Linked DNA regions of Homo sapiens: all the other regions are linked to region 2. Evidence: promoter capture Hi-C in 16 types of primary human blood cells and fetal thymus (Javierre and others, 2016). All regions are on one chromosome and are shown on one strand. The core of a region is centred on a gene start or on the middle of the fragment in contact, and the rest is flanking DNA. Distances in the headings are between cores, read along the strand shown. Region 1 has its middle 30 kb from the start of C19orf12. Region 2 holds the start of POP4 (POP4 ribonuclease P/MRP subunit). Region 3 has its middle 48 kb from the start of C19orf12.

The links. Contacts are between HindIII fragments. The CHiCAGO score rates a contact against its expected background, and 5 or more counts as called.
Region 1: a contact is called between a fragment that was not itself captured here and the fragment with the promoter of POP4 in region 2, in 2 of 17 cell types (total B cells and naive CD4 T cells). The highest score is 5.8, in total B cells.
Region 3: a fragment that was not itself captured here is called in contact with the fragment with the promoter of POP4 in region 2 in 2 of 17 cell types (naive CD8 T cells and naive CD4 T cells); the score reaches 7.0 in naive CD8 T cells.

What each region holds. Positions count from the first base shown.
Region 1 is chr19:29,743,722-29,746,752 of GRCh38, reverse strand. No RefSeq gene overlaps it. Among named protein-coding and RNA genes, the nearest start is that of C19orf12, 30 kb to the right of the region's middle. RefSeq lists enhancers at 848-1,347, 1,348-1,849. The HindIII fragment of the contact is 1,976 bases long and covers 499-2,474 here.
Region 2 is chr19:29,605,003-29,608,153 of GRCh38, reverse strand. POP4 (POP4 ribonuclease P/MRP subunit) reads right to left here and starts at 1,871. Exons shown (of 7, transcript NM_006627.3): 1 at 1,829-1,871. The coding sequence starts at 1,835. RefSeq lists an enhancer at 1,729-2,218. The HindIII fragment of the contact is 1,017 bases long and covers 1,429-2,445 here.
Region 3 is chr19:29,761,287-29,764,510 of GRCh38, reverse strand. No RefSeq gene overlaps it. Among named protein-coding and RNA genes, the nearest start is that of C19orf12, 48 kb to the right of the region's middle. The HindIII fragment of the contact is 1,827 bases long and covers 945-2,771 here.

The DNA.
Region 1 (3,031 bases), core at 237-2,736, 140 kb before region 2:
ACTGGCGAGTGCCCCTGAGCCTTGGGGTCCTGTGCCTGGTGACTTCTTAGCTAACGGAAGTACTGGCTTCCTGGCCTCACTGGCCCTGGGAATATGGCCCAAGCCCCTCCAGCAGTAGGAGTCTGGGGCATAACTTGACCTTCAGTGTCGACAGTGCAGTGGAAAAGCCTGGGGGTGGATGCTAGAGGTCTGGGGAAGGCTCCCTGGCTCCCAGACTCTTCCTGCCCTGCCTGCTAATGTCCCCAGACCCACCCGCAGGGCTGCATCACCATGGACCACAGTGGTGGATGCCACTCTATTTTCAGAAAATAGCTTCCAGTTTCTGTATCTGTATCTGTGCCTCTATCTACAATCACTCTCTCGATGACAGATTAGATAGATAGATGATAGATAGATAGATAGATAGATAGATAGATAGATAGACAGACAGACAAACGGGGAGAGAGAGAGACCTATACCTATATCTCAGGAATCATTAGTGTGCTGTACTTTAAAGCTTTTCAGCAGGCTTCGTTCTGTAAATGTGCGCACCAAAACACTAGACAAGTGACAATTACAAATAACAAAAAAGATACATGGCCAGGCGCGGTGGCTCACGCCTATAATCCCAGGACCTTGGGGGGCCGAGGTGGGTGGATCACTTGAGGTGAGGAGATTGAGAGCAGCCTGGCCAACGTGGTGAAACTCCGTCTCTACTAAAAATACAAAAATCAGCCAGGTGTGGTGGCATGGGCCTGTAGTCCCACCTACTCAGGAGGCTGAGGCAAGAGAATCTCTTGAACCTGGGAGGCGGAGGTTGCAGTGAGCCGAGACTGTGCCACTGCACTTGAGCCTGGGTGACGGAGTGAGATGCTGCCTCAAAAAACAACAACAAAAAAAGGCCTTGTTACGGTCTCTGCTCCCACCCTGGCCTCGCTAGAGGCCCCTTTCAAGCCTGCGAGTGAGCCTGGGTTGATCAGACTCTTCCTTGAAGTCAGAGAATTGACAAGAAGCCCAGGGTCCTCCTCTGTCCTGCCGAAGATTTAAAGGGGAAGTTTGGGTAAGAAACAACAAACTTGACCAACTTGACAACGCTGTTTATTTGTTTGCTTTAAAACAAAATCTACTTGTTTGAGGAACAGTGATGAAAATGAGCGAGTGTCTGTTCTCAGGACAGTCTGTCTTTCCTGTGGAACTCAGGTGAGCCAGTCCCTCTGCCTGTGGTTCTCTGGGGGCAGTGTGTTCAGGGAGTCCCAGGCAGGGGCTGGCTTGCTCTGGGGTGTCCAGCAGAGGGCCAGAGAGCTTGCAAGCCAGACCTAGGGGGCTCCCGTGGGGCTCCCACTGCCCATGAAGCCCTTCCGTCCCCAGTGCCTTTGCTCTTGTTGTCCCTCCTGCCCCACCCTCTAGACCCCAGATCTGTGCATGGCAGTTTTTTCTTGTCACTTGGCTTTAATTGCAAATGCGCCCTCTTCGGGGAGGCATTTCCTGACAACCTGATCCAAAGTGCCCTGCCCTGCGGGCCTCCCACTCTCAGCCCACCTCGCTTTATTTTCTCCAGTACACGAATCGCAATCTCCATCATCGATGGCCATGCACCGAATAATGTTTGGGTCAAAGGCAGTGTGCAGTGGTGACAGTGGTCCCATCAATGATAATACTATATTTTTACTGTACCTTTTCTAAGTTGAGATTTGTTTAGGTACACAGATACTTAACCACTGGGTTCCAGCTGCCTGCGGCATTCAGCGCAGTAACGTGCTGTCTGGGTCTGTGGTCTAGGAGCCACAGGCCACACCATGCAGTCTAGATGTGCAGTAGGCAACCCCATCCAGGTTTGTGTAGTGCACTCTGTGACGTCCACACAATGACAACATCACCTCTCCATGCATTTCACAGGACATGTCCCTGTCACTCAGCGACGCTTTAGATCTTGTTGGCTGCCTTCCCCAAGCAGAACATGGGCTCCCTGAGAGGAGGGAGACCATTCTCTGTGGTGACCATTCAGAGCAGTGGTGAGAACAGGGCCTGGCCCACCTGGCAGGTACCCGGTAGGCATCTGTAGAGTGAATGAGAGTAAAGGAGAAAGACTGGCCCTTCCTGTGCACATAGCTGAGATGGGAACTCTGGATGTTGACACAGGTCAGTCATCCTTTGGTTTTTTTTGTTTGTTTGTTTGTTTGAGACAGATCTTGCTCTGTCACCCAAGCTGGAGTGCAGTGGCACCATCTAGGCTCTTAGATTCAAGTGATTCTCGTGCCTCAGGCTCCCCAGTAGCTGGAACTACAGGCATGTGCCACCATGCCTGGAGAATTGTTTGTATTTTTAGTAGAGACAGTGTCTCACCCTATTGCCCAGGCTGGTCTTGAACTCCTCATCTCAAATGATTGGATCTCAAGTGATCCACCCACCTTAGCCTCCCAAAGTACTAGGATTACAGGCATGAGCTGCCGTGCCTGGCCACGATTGCCCTCTTGTCCTTACTCCCAAAAGAAGCTTTTCCTAAGTTATTCTGATAATTCCTGCTTGAGCAAATCTAGATAATTGAGGTATAAGCATTGGGTGGGGCATTTTTTTTAAAATTGTTGTTTTCATTGAAATTGCCTTAATTCTCCCATTTCCTCTGCCACTGTGGACAGGACTAAGCTATTTGGGCCTCCTCTCTCTCTGCTCTGAATCGCTGTCTATCATGGTCACCAGCACCTCTCTTTTTTAAAAAAAATTTTTTTTAAGAGTCAGGGTCTTGTTCTGTTGCCCAGGCTGGAGTGCAGTGGTGCAATCATAGCTCACTGCAGTCTCAATATCCTGGGCTTGAGTGATCTTCCTACCCCAGCCTTTGGAGTAGCTGAGACAACAGGTGTGCACCATCACACCCAGCTACTTTTTTTTATTTTTTGTAGAGACAGAGTCTTGCTATGTTGCCCAGACTTGTCTCAAACTCCTGGGCTTAAGCAATCTGCCTGCCTCAACCTCCCAAAGTGCAGAGATTACAGGTATGAGCTACTGTGCACAGCCAGCACCTTTTCTTGGACAATGACATTTCAGCCAGCCCCTG
Region 2 (3,151 bases), core at 622-3,121:
TGCCTCTTATCCCACCCTCTGGCCACATCTATGCTAGAAGTTCCAAGCACATGGTTTAAAAAGAATGCTTCTCAAAATTTAACGTGTGTAAAAATCTCTGGGATCTTATTAAAATGCAGATTATTGGTCTCCTACCCTAGATCCTGAGTGTTTAACATATTCCCAGATACTACTGCAGGTCAGTGAATCACATTTTGAGTTGCATTGGTTTAAAATACCCCAAGTTAGAAGCTTGAGCACTTGCTAACAAGGTAACTCATTAAAAGTTATATGATATAGCTGTCTAGGATGTAGATGGTTAGAAATAGGTTTTGTTAACTGTAAGATGTTTAAAAAGATTCTTCACATTTTAATATGAAATTATAATGTGTCACATAATCGATGGTGTCCTGAACTGATAAAATACAAGTTTTTCCTTTAAACTCAAAATATACATTGGTCAATAAAGTTTCAACCTCTAAAATAAATTCCACACTTCTGTTTCTTAATTTTTTGAAAGAAGAAAACCATGGCACTGGGGACAGAGTACAGGTGTGAATGGAATAAGAATGGGACTACTAAGGCCTGGTTTATGAGCTAAATAGCTAGAAAATGTAATTTACACTATACTCTGTAAATTTAATTCCAGCTTTCTTGTACTTCCCTGAGAATGTTTGATGCAAGGTGGTTACAAGTTTTTTTTTTTTGTTGTTTGTTTGTTTGTTTTGATACTGGGTTTTGCTCTGTTGCCCTGGCTGGAGTGCAGTGGCACAATCATAGCTCACTGCAACTTCGACCTCCTGGTTTCAAGTGATCCTCCCACCTCAGTCTCCTGAGTAGCTGAGACTACAGGTGTGTGCCACCACACCTGGCTAATTCTTTTTTTTTTTTTCCAGTTTTTGTAGAGACAGGGTCTCGCTATGTTGTTGCCCAAGTTGGTCTTCAACTCTTGGCCTCAAGTGATCCCCCTGCCTCAGCCTCCCAAAGTGCTGGGACCACAGGCGTGTCCCACCACACCCAGCCAGGTATGTTTGTTTGATCAAGCAAACCAATGTGGTTGCAAGTTTTATATATAGCATCTAGTTCTCCCTCAAATGGAAGATGGGGATTATAAACTGTAGAGAGCAACTTGCGGGGCCTGATAACTTTGCTTCATCTGTTACAGGTGCTTAGTAACAGACTTGGAAGTCTTTCTGCAACAATACACATCTAACAATTACTGAACATCCATTACTTGCCAGAAACCTCATTACAAGGTACACATATTTTTTCTCATTACACTTATGTGCATGAGCAAACTGAAGCTCAGACATGCCGAGACAATCTACTTGATCATATAGGTAGAAAGTGGCAGAGATGAAAAATAAAAATTCTGATTGAAGGCCCAGTCTTAACGGTGTCTACACGCCCCTCCTTGGCACATGTCTTCTACCCCTAAGGACCAAAGCTTTGGGTTAGTGATATCATTCCCCAGCAGCTCTCGGCGCTTTGCATCAGGTTAAGAGTGTGAAACCAGCTCGCAGAAAGGAGCAGGATCTTGACCGCGGTCACCCCGGGAGATAGTGGCCAAGTTGAGCCAAGGCCTGGAACCCTCCTCTAGCATCGCACACCACTGAGCAGCCTCCGGGAGAACCTGCCTCCAGCCCTGACATCCCTCCCTAGCTCAGAGGTCGAGCCAGGCTAACCCGTGCTCCAGCCCTCAGTTTTTCTTAGGTAGGGTGGGCCCATTCCTGTAGCGGTTCTGTTAGGACTCCGCAGCAACAGGTAGCCCGGACCCATTTCACCCACCAGTACCAAGACCCCGACCCTTAACGTCCCCAACCCTCTCCAACTTCGCGGCCCCGCTTACTCTTCATTCTCGGACCGCTTCCGGCGCTCTCTGATGACGCACTGGCAGCTGCTGTCGCAGACTCTCGGAGCTCGGAGATGGCGCTATGCGTGACATCACCGGCGCTCGCCCACCTCGGGGGCGCATGCGCCTGGAAAGGGATTCGGCTACTGAGAACGTCGTAGGCGGTGTTGCTGAGCAGTGGGGAGGAGTGGGCTCGCTTCCTGGGGTCTTTTCCGCCTGCATCTTTTGGGGGACAGGCAGTAGGGTTGGGGTAAAGGCATGTGGAATGCTTGCTAAGGCCTGGAGTGGAGCGAGGCGAGGCGACTTGGAGAGGACTCGAAGGAGGTTGGGGATCTGGGAGGGCGGAAATGGGACGGGGACGGTGGGGTGAGGTCTTTGTCGTCCCTAATCAGCGCCCTTACGGATGAGCCGAGGCAGCTTCCGCTGTGAGCACGGGCACCGAAGCTGGGACAGCAGGCTTAGGTTCTAGTTCCGTGTCTGCTGCTAACTAGCTGTTTAACCTCGCTTAGGGCACTTCCCATCTGTAAGCCTCACTTGCAGTCTGTGCTGTGAGTGGGGTCGGCCTCACAGGTAGTGATGCGCCGCCTGGGTCCCTTTGATAGTTTCAGAAAGCTTTCTTGAGACTCAGAATATTTATTAGTTTTTATCAATAAAAAAATCATAGCAATAAGATCAAAGGTGGCTCACACCGTGGGAGGCGCAGGCGGGAGGATCTCTTGAGCCCAGGAGTTCGAGACCAGCCTGGGCAACATCGGGAGACCCCATCTCTACAAAACATTTAAAAAAAATTATCCAGGCGTGGTGGTGCGTGCTTGTAGTCCCAACTACTCGGGTATCTGAGGTGGGAGGATCAGTTGAGCCCAAGGAGTTTAGGGCTGCAGTGAACCTGGATTGCGCTACTGCACTCCAGCCTGGGTGACAGAGTGAGACCCTGTCTCCAAAATAAATAAATAAATTCCATATAAATAAATAAATGAATAAACAAACTCCATTGCTCAGTGGAAAGGTGCAGGAAGGCCTGGTGCAGACTTCTCAGCAGTGACCCAGTGTTGGGCAGAACTGTGGAGCCCCAATTTCTGCTGAGCACTGGGCCTGTGCTGGGTGGGAGAGAAAAGAAATACGGTCCCTTTATGCTAAGTCAGTGGTTCTCAACTTTGAGTACAGTATACATTTCTTTACAGGGGATTCTGGGAGTATGTCCAAAGGTTTTAGTTTGAGAAACATTGGCTTAAACAATTTCTTTGGTGGTGACCTTGTACCATTTTGATTTTAAACATTAGACTGCAGGCACTGAAATTGGTTCATCCCAGTGACCCCGCG
Region 3 (3,224 bases), core at 609-3,108, 160 kb before region 2:
GCCACGCTCACCCACTGCATCTCCTTCGATCCTCATGCCAGCGCTGTGGGGAGGTTTTTGTCGATCTTGTGTCTCAGTAGGGGCTCAGAGGTGAGGTCACTTGCCTAAGGTCGGGCCTGGTGGGAGTGAAGATTGGAACTCGGGCTGCCCAATTCCCAGGCCCATGGGCTTACGAGGTGACACCACAAGAGGCAGTTGAGAGTTTCCTGGGGGCTTTTTGCTCAATTGTGTGCCTGGTCTGCACGCCCATCACGCTTCCTTTAGGCCCTGTGATCTCTGGTCAGCTGTACACCACGTCTGAGCCTCAGTTTGCCCATTTGTAGTGTACGGGTAGTGCTCCCTGGCCTGCACACCTCAGAGGGCTCTTTTGGGCCCCCAGAGCTGCAATGCCTGAAAGCATCTTAAAAATAGCCCGTGCTGGCAGGGCATGATGGTTCATGCGTGTAATCTTAGCACTTTGGGAGGCCGAAATGGGTGGATCACTTGAGGTCGGGAGTTTGAGACCAGCCTGGCCAACATGGTGAAATCCCGTCTCCACTAAAAAAATACAAAATTAGGCAGGTGTGGTGGCGCACGCCTGTAATCTCAGCTACTCAGGTGGCTGAGGCAGGAGAATCGCTTGAACCTGACAGGCAGAGGTTGCGGTGAGCCAAGATCGCGCCACTGAACTCCAGCCTGGGTGACAGAGTGAAACTCTGTCTCAAAAACAAACAAACAAACAAACAAACAAACAAAAATAGCCTGTCCTGTACTCAGAGAGGAGAGGCACCACCAGAGTCATTCACTTGGGATAATTCTGTTCCCATTACTAATCTGGAAGGAGACTTCTAAGGACTACAACCCTGATATTTTCTCATCCTGCTTTTCTAATTTTCTCCAACATCAGGCAGCTAGGGGAAAAGCCGCATTTTCAGATGCAAATTTTCCTCTGAACCACGGAAGCTTTAAAACCACCAGATGAAGTATAGAAAGTGCTTGACAATTTCTTTAAGAATCTTGCATTCTCTGGGTTAGAATATCACGCGTGAGGATATGTGTGTGTTGTGTGTTTTTTTAATCCTGCTATCGTGAGCAGCAGGTACCAAAATGTTGATCTTTAATGTGTTAGTAAAACAGCATACATTTGAATATTGGCTTTTTCTGCCATCTGTACCAGTTGACACTGTTTTTCATACCAGCTTATTACATTTCTTGTACAAACATACTTTTGGGTGTCTCTGTTGATTTATGCTATAGTTGCTCTGGTATTTGTGTTAAAATAGCATTTTAAAACTTATAAAATATTGCTATTTATTCCTTCCTTGATTCTTTGCCATTTGACAAGTTCTGCAGTAGCGCATATTTCCCAAGGACTAAGTTTCTGGTCACGGTTCTCTTGAGGGGGCAGCAGGCTGGGGGCAGGCGAGCCCAGAATAGCTCGGGCTGGGGATCTAGCTGGGCACTCCTAGCATACTAAACTCACTGTCCCCCTTGGGTAGGTCTGCAGATTCCCCAGGGCTTTCTTCTTCTTCTTCTTTTTTTAATCTAAAAATTTCTTTTAGAGGCCAGGCACGGTGGCTCACGCCTGTAATCCCAGCACTTTGGGAGGCTGAGGCAGGCAGATCATCTGAGGCCAGGAGTTCAAGACCAGCCTGGCCAACCCCATCTCTACTAAAAATACAAAAATTAGCCAGGCGTGGTGGCGGGCACCTGTAATCCCAGCTACTCATGAGGCTGAGGCACAAGAATTATTTGAACCCGGGAGAAGGAGGTTGCAGTGAGCTGAGATGATGCCATTGAACTCCAGCCTGGGCGACAGGGTGAAACTGTGTCTCCAGAAAAAAACAACTAATAATAAAATAAATTAATTAAAAATGAATAAATAAAAATTTCTTTTAGAGACGGGGGGGGGGGGTCTTGCTATGTTGCTCAGGCTGGTCTTGAACTCCTGGCCTCAAGTGATCCTCCCACCTTGGCCTCCCAAAGTGTGGGGACTACAGGTGTGAGCCACCATGCCTGACCCCCCCAGGGTTATTTTAAACGTCCAAATGATAAAAATAAAGTCAACACGGTAGGTCTCCCTAAATTTGCTCAGTTTGAAGACCTGTTATTCTTTCATTCTGTCTGCCTCCCCCTTTTGATGTCAAAATTTTATTTCTCCAGTGAATTGAAGAGGTTCTTGGATGACCATCTATTTTTTCTCTCAAATGGCTTTCCTGGGCAAAATCATGAGCTGGTATCCCTATGTTCCTTCCCAGTTGGTTTGGGTGTAATTTTACTGATCTGCAAAATCCTCAAATCTGGGGCCCTCTTGTGCTAAGGTAGAGCTTAGATGAGCCCCTCTGCCGGGACTCCATGCCATGGTCTGGGATGGGGGCCCTTCACGGCCCTGGGGGAGGCTCTGTGGCAGTGAATGGCGCCTGCCACCGGCTGGTGCATAGATGAGGCATTCTGCCACTCTAAAAAAAAATCTGTGCAAACTGCCACAGATGGGAGGAAGAGCCGATATTCAAATTGGAGGCTGTTTTGCTAACACGTTAAAGATTAACGTGTTTTTATTGGCTGCTGCATACTGAAGCAGGATGAGTTTTCCTTCTCTAAAAAAGCAGAAAGAAATAGAAGCCGCCTGTTTGGGGCCAGTGCTGGGGATTGTGGTGTGAGGCCCCCACTGCCCAAGAGAGCCCAGGGTTCTGAAGCGCAGCCCCATCTCCCGCTCTGAAGCCCTTGCCCTGTCTCCTGGTGACACCTGGCCCACTTCACCCAGCCTGTGCCTCCCCTTCCGGCTGTAAGCTTCCAATCCCCTTTTCTTTTTTCCTTTCTTTTCTTTCTTTCTTTTTTTTTTTTTCCTTGAGATAGAGTCTCGGTCTGTTGCCCAGCCTGAAGTGCAGTAGCTGGATCTCGGCTCATTGCAACCTCTGCCTCCTGGGTTCAAGCGATTCTACAGCTTCAGCCTCCTGAGTAGCTGGGATTACAGGCATGCACCACCACACCCAGCTAATTTTTGTATTTTTAGGAGAGACAGGTTTCACCATGTTGGCCAGGTTGGTCTCAAACTCCTGACCTCAGGTGATCCACCTGCCTCCGCCTCCCAAAGTGCTGGGATTATAGGTGTGAGCCACCGTGCCCGACCTCCAGTCCCCTTTTCTTAAGACTAAGTCCCCGTGTGATGACGGTGAGCAGGTGCCGGCAGCCATGCCAAGCACCTCCCCAGACTGCTCTGCGGGACTCTCCTGAGAGGCAGTCCC